Regions from separate parts of the Homo sapiens genome. Here regions 1 and 3 are each linked to region 2. Evidence: promoter capture Hi-C in 16 types of primary human blood cells and fetal thymus (Javierre and others, 2016). All regions are on one chromosome and are shown on one strand. The core of a region is centred on a gene start or on the middle of the fragment in contact, and the rest is flanking DNA. Distances in the headings are between cores, read along the strand shown. Region 1 overlaps LOC100287290 (a long non-coding RNA gene). Region 2 holds the start of RARRES1 (retinoic acid receptor responder 1). Region 3 overlaps GFM1 (G elongation factor mitochondrial 1).

The links. The method cuts DNA at HindIII sites, captures the fragments that hold promoters and counts their contacts. A CHiCAGO score of 5 or more calls a contact.
Region 1: a contact is called between a fragment that was not itself captured here and the fragment with the promoter of RARRES1 in region 2, in 2 of 17 cell types (erythroblasts and M0 macrophages). The highest score is 8.2, in erythroblasts.
Region 3: a contact is called between a fragment that was not itself captured here and the fragment with the promoter of RARRES1 in region 2, in 1 of 17 cell types (neutrophils). The highest score is 5.0, in neutrophils.

What each region holds. Positions count from the first base shown.
Region 1 is chr3:158,776,978-158,780,865 of GRCh38, reverse strand. All of the region lies in intron 4 of LOC100287290 (a long non-coding RNA gene), which reads right to left. Among named protein-coding and RNA genes, the nearest start is that of MFSD1, 23 kb to the left of the region's middle. The HindIII fragment of the contact is 1,701 bases long and covers 1,710-3,410 here.
Region 2 is chr3:158,731,032-158,734,947 of GRCh38, reverse strand. RARRES1 (retinoic acid receptor responder 1) reads left to right here and starts at 2,491. Exons shown (of 6, transcript NM_206963.2): 1 at 2,491-2,808. The coding sequence starts at 2,533. It overlaps LOC100287290 (a long non-coding RNA gene), which reads right to left and starts at 2,587. Exons shown (of 5, transcript NR_171782.1): 1 at 2,420-2,587; 2 at 911-997. RefSeq lists an enhancer at 2,039-2,539 and a silencer at 2,617-2,676. The HindIII fragment of the contact is 14,465 bases long and covers 1-3,916 here.
Region 3 is chr3:158,691,275-158,695,254 of GRCh38, reverse strand. GFM1 (G elongation factor mitochondrial 1) reads right to left here. Exons shown (of 18, transcript NM_024996.7): 18 at 1-3,919. The coding sequence ends at 3,788. Among named protein-coding and RNA genes, the nearest start is that of LXN, 21 kb to the right of the region's middle. The HindIII fragment of the contact is 2,959 bases long and covers 516-3,474 here.

The DNA.
Region 1 (3,888 bases), core at 1,311-3,810, 46 kb before region 2:
AGAATGGTTGTGTTAAAAGATGAAAAGAGCTTGGGTCTTGAATGTCATCACTGAACACTTCACCAGTTTTCAAACAGCCCTATTTCTGAACTCTTGTGATGTGAGATTACTAATGTCCTCATTATTTAAGCTACATTAGTAGTTGGATTTCTTGTCACATGTAGCTGAAAATATCCTAGCTAATACATCAACAAATAAATGAGTAAATAATAAAATTTTTAATTAAAAAGAAAAATTGAGCTCTATACATATTGTATGCATGTATCAAAATCTCACTTGTACTCTATAAATATGTTCAACTATTATGGATCCATTTTTTAAACATACAAATTTGAACTCTTTTTTTTTCTTTTTATGTTTCTGCCAGCAGGAAGTCAAAATCTGAACTCTTTTTGTGTTTATATGCATCCGTTTTTTAAATGACCTGATGAAATTAAAACTGTTGAGAAAAATTAAAAAAAAAAAAGAAATGAGTGGGCCGGGCGCAGTGGCTCACGCCTGTAATCCCAGCACTTTGGGAGGCAGAGGCAGATGGATCATGAGATCAGGAGATCGAGACCAACCTGACTAATATGGTGAAGCCCCGTCTCTACTAAAAATACAAAAAATTAGCCAGGCATGGTGGCGGGTGCCTGTAGTACCAGCTACTTGGGAGGCTGAGACAGGAGAATGGCGTGAACCTGGGAGGCAGAGCTTGCGGTGAGCTGAGATCACGCCACTGCACTCCAGCCTGGATGACACAGCAAGACCCCATCTCAAAAAAAAAAAAAAAAAAAAGAAAGGAGTAAATAGAAAATGAAAGTAGAGGATACAAACCTCTTGGAAAAGAGACCCAAGAGACGGCATGTAACTAGAAATGGCAGGAGAGACAAAAGATATATTCTGAGGAGAAACAGAAAGAGTGATAGCAAACATGCCAAAACATGTGAAGGTGATATTCCACAGGAGGTGGGTAAGGGTAGCTAGGAGCTGGGAGTATTAGCTTTAGAAACACAGAAGTAAAAACTCCTCCTTTAAAATCAAAAAGAGGCCGGGCGTGGTGGCTCACACTTGTAATCCCAGCACTTTGGGAGGCCAAGGTGGGTGGATCATTTGAGGTCAGGAGTTTGAGACCAGCCTGGCCAACATGGTGAAACCCCGTCTGTACTAAAAATACAAAAATTAGCCGGGCATGGTGGTGCTTGCCTGTAACCCCAGATACTCGGGAGGCTGAGGCACAAGAATCACTTGAACCTGGGAGATGGAGGTTGCAATAAGCCAAGATGGCGCCACTACACTCCAGTCCAGGTGACAGAGTGAGACCCTATCTCAATAAATAAATAAATAAAATCAAAAAGAAAGCCAGGAAGAGGAAAGATGATAGAACAGGTATCAGATAATACCAGTTTCTTTTACTAAACTCATCCAAGGATTACAGTAAATTAAGCAATTAAATAATGAGTGATGCTTAATTTTGACTTCAGAATGTCAATAGCATGACTTCTTCTCAAAGGACAGACGTATCTGTAAGTGTAAGAAAATTGGGAAACATGGCTACATTTGGAGCCAAGGAAGTTTTACTATACAATATTTAGAATAACTGACATTATTTCTCTTTTCTGTTGTTGAAAATGCAGCCCCTTCCATTATAAAACCATGTATCTCATGGAATGTGATTTTCCATCTCTATTTATCTCTATTTATCCTTCCAGCCCATTCATTTCTAAGCTTAAACTATCTATTGCTCACCCTGAGCACTTGGAGAATGTTACTTTTCCTCTTCAACTGATGGAATCCAGAACTGAAGGTAGCCAGAGATTAGCAATGAGGAAATGGAAGCAGACAGTAATGAAGTCTATGGCAAGTTAGTGAAGGTGTAAAACAGAATAATAAAAAATATTTTATTAATCAAAAAAGGTAAGAAAAAAAGGAAACATAAAACAAACAGGTCTACATATAGAAACCAATGGTAGACAGTAGAAATAAACTCAACTGTATCAGTTTTAGTATAAACTAACTAAATAACCCAAGTAAAAAGCCAAGACTGTAATACTGGATAAAAATATATGTTGCTTACAACAACCACATTTTAAGTATAAGAAATAGATTGAATGTGAGAGGATAGAAAAAGAGTCACCATGTAAATATTCACCACAAGGGAGCTGAGGTAGCTATCCTAATATCAGACAAAAGAGATTGTAATGCAAGAAGTGTTACCAAACATAAAGAGGGGCACTTTATGTGATCAGGACTGAATCCAACAGAAAGATATCACAGTCCTAAATCCAAACACACTCAATAACATAGCTTCAAAATACAAAAAGTAAGAAATTGACAGATCTAAATTCCACTGAGATTGGGAGGCCAAAGCAGGCGTATCACTTGAGGTCAGGAGTTTCAGACCAGCCTGGCCAACATGGTGAAACCCCATCTCTACCAAAATTACAAAAAATGAACTGGGCTTGGTGGTGCATGCCTGTAATCCCAGCTTCTCAAGAGGCTGAAGCAGGAGAATCACTTGAATCTGGGAGGCGGAGGTTGCAGTGAGCCGAGATCATGCCACTGCACTCCAGCCGGGGCAACAGAGAGACACTCCATCTCAAAAATAAATAAACAAATTCCACTGAGGGAAGTCATTGATAGAATTCAAGACAAGTCTGAAGAGTGAAACACTACTAATTCTGAACTCATTATCACAAAGCTCCTAACTTGTATGAGTCCTGACTGGCATGAAGTTGTCTCAGGGACTCAAACGGGGGCAGCAGTTTGATGGTTAGCTTCATCTAGCCCACTAGATCTCTTGCAAGGTGAGACCTCTAGAAAACATCTCCAGCACTTCATTTAAAGTATTATGGGTATATTATATCCTTAAGTAAGAAACGGTGCAGCCCATCTGCATTTTTCTAAATGAATTCCAATCAGGGTCAGCAGGACACCAGGGCCCTGTCCCAGACTTGAGATCCACCAGCTCCTGTTTTTGTCAAAAAATAAACATAATCTGGCAGCTGCATCTTGGAACCCGGCAGCTCAGGAGTCCTCATCAGACACTTAGAACAGCAAAGGTCTCCAGGATTATGGTCCAAAGGGTCATAAATATGTAGCGAATTTTAAAATGCTGGTTTCCTCCCCAGCAAGGAGTACATCACTCAGTTCTGCTGTGTCACCAGTAATATCTACCCCAAAAGCTACTATTTCAGGAGGACCATTTATCTCTCTCCATCCTGTCTGCGTAGCAGGCCATTGCCTGCCCCCACAACACTCACTGCCCCCTCTCAAAATCTCAGGCCATAATCTCTGCATTAGAATCACTTTCTCCAGAAACAGATCATTCTGCTACATTTGCCCAGCTTTAACCTTCAATTTCAAGTTTGCTTCAGAACCCACAACCCAGCAGTACACAGTGATTGTCTTTTCTTCTTCTACTGCAAGCTTTGTAGTCTAATATGTACCACAGGAAGAAAATACACAGGACAAGTTTGGTTAGTCTGAAATTTCCTTATTATCTCTAAGAGTGCTGTGGGTGGTTGAGGCACTCTGGAATGTCATGGGACTTTAGCTTACTGTAATTTACCAGTTGTGAAATATATCAGTTCCTTTTTCTTTTCTTAAAATTTTCTTTTATTAAAGAGTCAACAAATTTAGCACTTGATGGGTCCCCTTAAATGTAAATAGCCAGGTACCTTTAGAAGTCTAAAAGTAAAATGAAACTAACCAAATAGTTAGTGGCTTCTCTACCGGTGTTGGCCAAATTGGGAGAGACAGAGGACCTAGAAATTTATATCTTTCAATTATTGAATAGGAAAAATTAAAGAAATATAGCTATCATTTAATCCAGCTTCTGTCTCTCATAAAAAATGGATTCAGTGGCTTGTGCAAACCAAATGTCCCAGACCTCAGAAGCTCCAGAGA
Region 2 (3,916 bases), core at 1,242-3,741:
TTCATGTTGAAACTCAATTCCCAGTGCAAGAATGTTGGGAGGTGGGGCCTAGAGTGAGGTGTTTAGGTCATAAGAGTGGGTACTCTCTCACTCTTCCAGCATGTGAGGACACAGCGTTCCTCCCCTTCATAGGATGAAGCACGCAAAGCCCCATTTTGGAAGCAGAGACAGAGCTAAGACCCCACCAGACACCAAGCCTGTTGGTGCCTGGATCTTGGACTTCCAACCTCCAGAACTGTGAGAAACAGATATCTGTTCTTTATAAATTACCCAGTCTCAGGTATTCTATTATTGCAGCACAAAACAAACTATGGGGAGATGACTGGGTTCTGGGAGGTGATTACCTGTGCTAGGCTTGCCTCTGAGGGCAAGAAACAGCAACTCCAGCTTCAGGGAAGTGAAATAATAAGAAATAAACTCCAGGATCCGCTGATTCCTGTGTTCAACAATGCCATCAGGAACCCAGGGCCCTCCCCTCTCTCTGCTCTGCCACTCTTGAAATGGGCTTCATTCTCAGGCAGCCAGCAAGACAGAGGCATGCTTCTGGGCAGCACAGCCAGACCTAACTGGGGCCTATCGAGGGCCTGCACTCTCCCCCTTGGCTTCTCCCTCCAGCTGGATTTTCTTGCTTTTCTTCAAACATGCCAGATAGGCTCCTGCCCTAGCCTCTGCACTTGCGTTCCCTCTGCCTACAGTGCTTTTGCATACATGTCCACTTGGCTCTGCCTCCTTCAGGTCCTCACCCAAATATTACCTCCCGAGAGAGGCCTGCCCTGACCACACCTTTTAAGATTAACCACCTCCCAACTCCCCATTTCTTTTTCTGGCTTAATTTTTCTCCCTGGCATGTAACTTCATCCAATATAGCACACATTCCCTTGGCCTCACTGAGTGTCCGGGCCCCACTTGCCTAGAAGGTGTGCTCCAGGAAGGCAGAGATGTTTAAGATTGTTCACCCTCATTCCCCCAGGGCCTGGCACAGGTGTTTCACAATTATCTGCAGAAGGAAGGAAAGACAGACAAGGGACAGACAACAGCCAGAGGAAGAAGTGCAGTAAGACAGGATCTTTCCAGAGATGGCACCACGCCCATCAACCCACAGGCTTTGCTCACCATGCAGAACTGGCACATGCCCACTCTCAACCACCCACTGGCAAAAAGAGATTTCCTTTAGCCCCACAATGGCACTGGGGTCCACGTTTGGTGCAGGGGTAGACCCCTGAACAAAATGCAGGATGGAGAAATGGATGTTGGGAGTGCCTAGCAGTACCAGTTCTCCTCTCTCAGCCCTGGTTCTCCAGGACTTTTTCTCTTGCCTACGGTTTAAAAACAATGGCTATCTTAGCCCTTCACTGCCACCTGTCTAAAAAGAGTTGCCGCCGGGTACCGTGGCTCACGCCTGTAATCCCAGCACTTTGGGAGGCCCAGGCGGGCGGCTCACGAGGTCAGGAGTTTGAGACCAGCCTGACCAACATGGTGAAACCCCGTCTTTACTAAAAATACAAAAATTAGCCGGGCATGGTGGCTGTAGTCCCAGCTACTCGGGAGGCTGAGGTAGAATTGCTTGAACCTGGGAGGCGGAGGTTGCAGTGAGCCAAGATCGTGCCACTGCACTCCAGCCTGGGAGACAGAGCAAGACATGGTCTCAAAAAAAAAAAAAAAAAAAAGAGTTGCCAACACTTGCTGCCTCCATTCCCTGAAGCCCCATCCATGCCTCACCCCGCTGGAATCCGACTTCCATCCCCGGCCTTTAAATCTGCCTCGCACAGTGGTTATCAATGTATCAATGACCTACTTGCTTCTGAGACAAATGGGACTCTCAGGCCTTATCTTACCCTGCCTTGCTGCCCACTCCTCCCTCCTCGGCGCCTCTTCTGGGCAGGACCGGCAGGTGTTCAGGCCCGTCCCCAGCCCCTGGCTCCGGCGTCCCGGGCTCCCTGCCGGCATCCACCTTCACCTCCTCCCCAGCCCCAGCCCTCTGGCGACTTCTCCCACCTCCACAGTGGCTGTGCCACGAGGAGCCCCATCAATGCCCGCTGCGGCCTGCCCCTTTCTCCGCCGTCCCCTTTCACCTGCTGGGAAATCACAGCCCTAATGCTTGGAGAATCCAAGCAGTTTCCCTCTAAAACCCCAGGGTTGCGAAACCGCAGGGGAAACGCCAAGTCCCTGAGCTGGGCTAGGGACGCGGTACGAGGTAGCACGGGCGGGCCGCGATTCCTCGGGGAGGCGTCCCCATTGTCCCCCCAACCCCGACCCTCTCCCGCCGCGGCCTGGGCCAGAAGCACCCGGCCCTGCGCTGCGGAGGCGATGCCGCATCCTAGCACTAAGCCCGGGCAGCGGGGAGGGGCAGAGAGAACCCAGGGGCTGCGGGAAACGTGGAAAAGGAGTGGCCCCATGGGGACCCGGGCTCGCTACAGACCTTCGCCCTGGGGGCGGAGGGGAGGGGCCCACCACGGCCTTATTTCCGCGAGCGCCGGCACTGCCCGCTCCGAGCCCGTGTCTGTCGGGTGCCGAGCCAACTTTCCTGCGTCCATGCAGCCCCGCCGGCAACGGCTGCCTGCTCCCTGGTCCGGGCCCAGGGGCCCGCGCCCCACCGCCCCGCTGCTCGCGCTGCTGCTGTTGCTCGCCCCGGTGGCGGCGCCCGCGGGGTCCGGGGACCCCGACGACCCTGGGCAGCCTCAGGATGCTGGGGTCCCGCGCAGGCTCCTGCAGCAGGCGGCGCGCGCGGCGCTTCACTTCTTCAACTTCCGGTCCGGCTCGCCCAGCGCGCTACGAGTGCTGGCCGAGGTGCAGGAGGGCCGCGCGTGGGTGAGTGCGGAGCGACGCGCCGGGGCACGCGCCTGCCTGTCCGCGCACGGCGCTGGGAGGTGACACCTGGGTACGCGCGCCTGCCGGCCCAACGGATGGTCCGCCAGGGAAGGTGCAGTGCGCACGACGCCCGGGGAGATCCCAGCTGGGCCTGGCGCCCCTGAAGTATCCCAGGGCGTGGAAGGGGCCCCTTCGGTGCACAGCGTCTGCAGAAATCTGGCTCGTTCCTTCCAGCATTTATGAGGTCATAGGTTTTTCACAGGGCAGCGCTCTTGACTGCTCCCACACCTGGGAAAGAGATGCTTTGGGAAATTGAGGAACAGGCTGAAAGGGCAACATTTAATTTTGTCCGGAGGTACCCAGAGTTGGTTGCTATGGGGGTGCTTACTGTGCCTGCGCCCTACTAGTGGCTGCAGCCAAAGTTTTGGGCGGGATTTCCAAAATCTAAGCCAGTAGCCATACCATACCGCGGACGACTGTCTCTTGTTAATTGCAGTCCACCACGCTAGGGCTTCGGGGTAATGTGGTTGGAATTTACACGTAGGCCTGGGCAGAAACCTGCTAATGCTGGCGTCTGATTTGATCTAATTAGAAGTGAGTGAATCCGAGCCCAGTGTTCTATATGAACCGAATGAATGAGAACTTTGCAACCCGTTGTTTGGTTGCTGATTTCAAGGCATTGACTGTAGGAATTGTCTCGTATGTGTGAAGCTACTTTGCGTTCTTCATCCTATAGATTACAAAAGTTACAGAACTACACTAAGTCTGTCCCAAAAGCAAAGTTGCTCCTTCTACAACCTCCAGATATTCCACAAAGCCTGCAGACACACGGCCTCAAAGAATCTGGAATTGAGTATCGCATGTATTTAATAAATAGGTCGAGTTTTAAAGTGTAGCAGCAGGATTTTCATTTAACAGTGCCAAACGCCTGGAAGCAAACACCATTGGAAAGTCCTTCAAGAAGCTCAGCCTCGGTTCTTCAAAACTTATTCCTGTACCCGGCACGGCTGTATTTATTGAATGATTAAATCAAATTGTTCCTAGAAAAAGGCAACCTGGCCAGGCACGGTGGCTCACGCCTGTAATCCCAGCACTTTGGGAGGCCGAG
Region 3 (3,980 bases), core at 746-3,245, 39 kb after region 2:
CTACAGGCGTGAGCCACCCCGCCCGGACGATTTTTGTATTTATAGTAGAGACGGGGTTTCACCGTGTTGGCCAGGGTGGTCTCGAACTCCTGACCTCAGGTTATCCACCCACCTTGGCCTCCCAAAGTGCTGGAATTACAGGCGTGAGCCACCACATCCGGCCTCAGAATATCTTTTCTAGCACAAACTCTAAAATTGTTAACTTAATTTTACCAACATTGGTTTCACTAGCTAATAAAACAGAAAAATCACTTGGCATAAAATGAAAAACTATTCCCTATGTCCTCTTTTCATTAACAGTCTAAATTATTCTGAATCACTCTTAGCTAATTACAATTACATACAGCTTGACATTCATTTTCCTAATACCTTTAGAACTTTCTTAAGACATATAAAATAATACCAGGGATTTTGTCTACATTCCATTTTATTTTATTCATACTTTCATTTTCTTCCTACCTGAATTACGAATTTTTAGAAGTTGAACAAGTTCTTTTGAAAGTCAGTTGGAAGCTTATATAAATAGGAACACTTTTTTTTTTAAGGTAAAGTTATCAAGCCAGGCATGGTGGTGTGTGCCTCTTGTCCCAGCTACTCCAGAGGCTGAGGCCAGAGGACTGCTTGAGCTCATGAATTTGTGAGCAGCCTGGGAAACACAGCGAGACCCCATCTCTTTAAGTTCAGGGGTTGATGTGCAGGCTTGTTACATAGCTAAACTTGTGTCCTGGGGGTTTGTTGTACAGATTATTTCATCATCAAGGTATTAAGCCTAGTACCCATTAGTTATTTTTCCTGATCCTCTCCCTCCACCCACCCTCCATCCTCCAATAGGCCCCAGTGTGTGTTGTTCCCCTCTGTGTGTCCATGTGTTCTCATTATTTAGCTCCCACTTATAAGTGAGAACATGCAGTATTTGGTTTTCTTTTCCTATGTTAGTTTGATGAGGATAATGGCTTCCAGCTCCATCTATGTCCCTGCAAAGGACTTGATCTCATTCTTTTTTTATGGCTGCATAGTATTCCACAATGTGTATGTACCACATTTTCTTTATCCAGTCTATCAGTGATAGGCATTTAGGTTGATTCCATATCTTTGCCATTATGAACAGTTCTGCAATGAATGTGTGCATGCATGTGTCTTTATAATAGAATGATTTACGTTCCTTTGGGTATATAGTAATGGTATTGCTGAGTCAGATGGTTTTTGTCTTAGAAGACCCCATCTCTTAAAAAAAAAAACAGTTGTTAAACAAAAAAACCAAACTCTAATATCACACAAAAGAATACAATATGACACTCCTGAATTTCACAGATTTTTCATTTCATGTCTTGGGCTTAAGCGCAGTGCAGGCAATATTTCAGCGGTCTTTAACTTTGTCTGCATATTAGAATCACCCAAAAAAGTTTTTATCTTGATCCAGCCAAATAATCTAAATATCTGGGTGTAGGCCTAGGTATTTCTTTTTAAGGCTCCCCCAGTGATTTTTAAAGTACAGTGAGGGTTGGGAATCAGTACAATACTACCTAGTGCTGCTACTGTTGTCCAATACAAGGATGTAATATTTGAATTAGCCAACAATTATCCTTCTTGATAGTAGTATAAACAACCCTCACCTATGAATATTCTCATTAATTTTTTTCCATGCTACAGACTTTGGTTGGTATGTGATCTTTGCCAACTATAACTAATGACTTAGAAAGAGATGTGGGTTCTAGTCCTGATCTGTCCATTTGTGAACCTATTCTAATTACTCCCACCAGCTAGGCCTGAATCATTACCTATGAAATGCTGGTGTTGGATTAAATATCTAGGACCTTTTCTAACACTGTAACATTATAACCAGGATGTTTTACAAATTAAAAATAAGTAAGTTTTTTACTTATTTATCCAGTTTAGTTCCAGTAGTTGTGACTATTCTCAATAGCCATAGGAATCATGCTAAATTCCATGAAGGTACACAGAATGTATTTCCTCATTAGGAACAATATTCAAAGTTATTGTGAATGTCACAAGATGCTGAGGAAATGCCAAAGCAACCACATTTTTTCAGACCTGATGCTACTGTAGCAACAGACATTCATGGGGGAAATGCACTTGGTGAATAATTGTAATTAAAGTATCAATTAAAAAACTTAGGTTTTGTGGTCTCATTAAAGTTATTTACCTTATCTGTGCTTCTTCTATTACAAAATGGACATAATAATAGTACTTACTCTCGGGGTTGTGAGAATGAAATTATACAATGCATTTAAAGTATTTAGCAGCCAGGCATGGTGGTTCATGCCCATAATCCCAGCACTTTGGGAGGCTGGGGCAGGCAGAGAGCTTGAGCCCAGGAGTTTGAGACCAGCCTGGGCAATATGGCAAAACCCTATCTCTTCAAAAAATGCAAAAAATTAGCAGGGAGTGGTGGCGCACACCTGTAGTCCCACCTACTTAGGCAGCTGAGATGGGATAATTGCTTGAACCCAGGAAGCAGAGGTTGTAGTGAGCAGAGATAGTCCCTCTGCATTCCAGCCTGGGGGATAGAGTGAGACCCTACCACAAAAAAATAAAAATTAAAAAAAAAAAAGTATTTAGCAAATGCCTTGAAAACATGTGCTCAATACTTTTTAAAGATCTTTTTCCCCTAGAAACCTTAAAGTATAAAGCCACGTCTATAAGTCAAGAAAAGCAAAGGAATTTAAAATCAATTATTTTATTTCTACCATCAGGTAATGAAAAGGACTAGGATCCATCTATACCATCAGATGATTTTTGGATGAAGCAATTCTGAACCGGGTAATAGAACTGCTTGGGAAAGCCCAACTTTTTCTGGAAACAAAAGATTAACATTTGTCCCTTCATAATCTCAGTGAATACAATATACGATAAATTCCAAGGAATTCAAATTTAACTAGCATTCATTAGGTTGATGAAACTAACTCTATAAATTACATTTGATTTAGCTGTACAAAAACATTAAGATGAACACAAACAAGAATAGTATATGCAAGGGTCTACTTTTTACTTCACAATAGACCACAAGGAAGTAATACTTATACTCCTAAAACAGAGGCAGTTACAAATTTGCAGAAACCACAAACTGAAATAAACAGACATATATAAAACAGAGAGAAATTTGGCTAATATTTTAATATCCCAATGAAGAATCTGAAAAACACTCTCTATGAAGAACATACGGAATCCACTCTTCAACAGAAAAGCCTGCCCATTAATGACACTCCAAGAAGTGTCATGATATATGCGATTCACTTTCAAGTCTTCAGCAAACTAAAAATAGAGTTATGAGACTTAAACAGATAATAGACAGTGAAAGCAAATATGACAAAACAAATTATTATATGATAAACAACCCGTTAACAAAGGAAGGTAGATGGAAAGTATGTGGTTATTCTTTGCATTTTTTCAGCTTTTCTCTATGTTGAAAACTCTTATGATACAAAATTTGGAAATGAACATACATTCTAAGCTTAAAAGTATAACTGAAATTAGTCTCTTTTCCCCTTAAATATTAAACATATTTCAGTAATAATTATATTTTATTTGAGGATTTTCAATGAACTATAAAACCAATCAATAGAGTTGAGATAGACATAGAATTACCTTTGAATATAACAGAAGCTCCTGAATATGAACAAGAAGGGCTTCTTTTGAAGAAAGAAGAGCCCGCTTCCTGGGCTCAGAATTTCTTGTTTCAGCAGCCTGAATTTATTCCACTGGAATCCATCAAAGTATCAAAACCACGCAGATTCAATTAGAGTCAGTCAACTCACAGTAAGCAAAGTTAGTTCTTGGCTTTTCCTTTTTTAACAGGAAGTTGACCTGTAGCTTCCAAATACTTATTAATGACGTCTTCTTGTGTGGATGGTAAACATGGCTGATACCTGCTATACTCCATTGTGTATTCTCCCTTTCCCTAGGGATTTAAAAAAAAGAGAGGGTTTTTTGTTTGTTTGTTTGTTTTTTAAACTATCAAG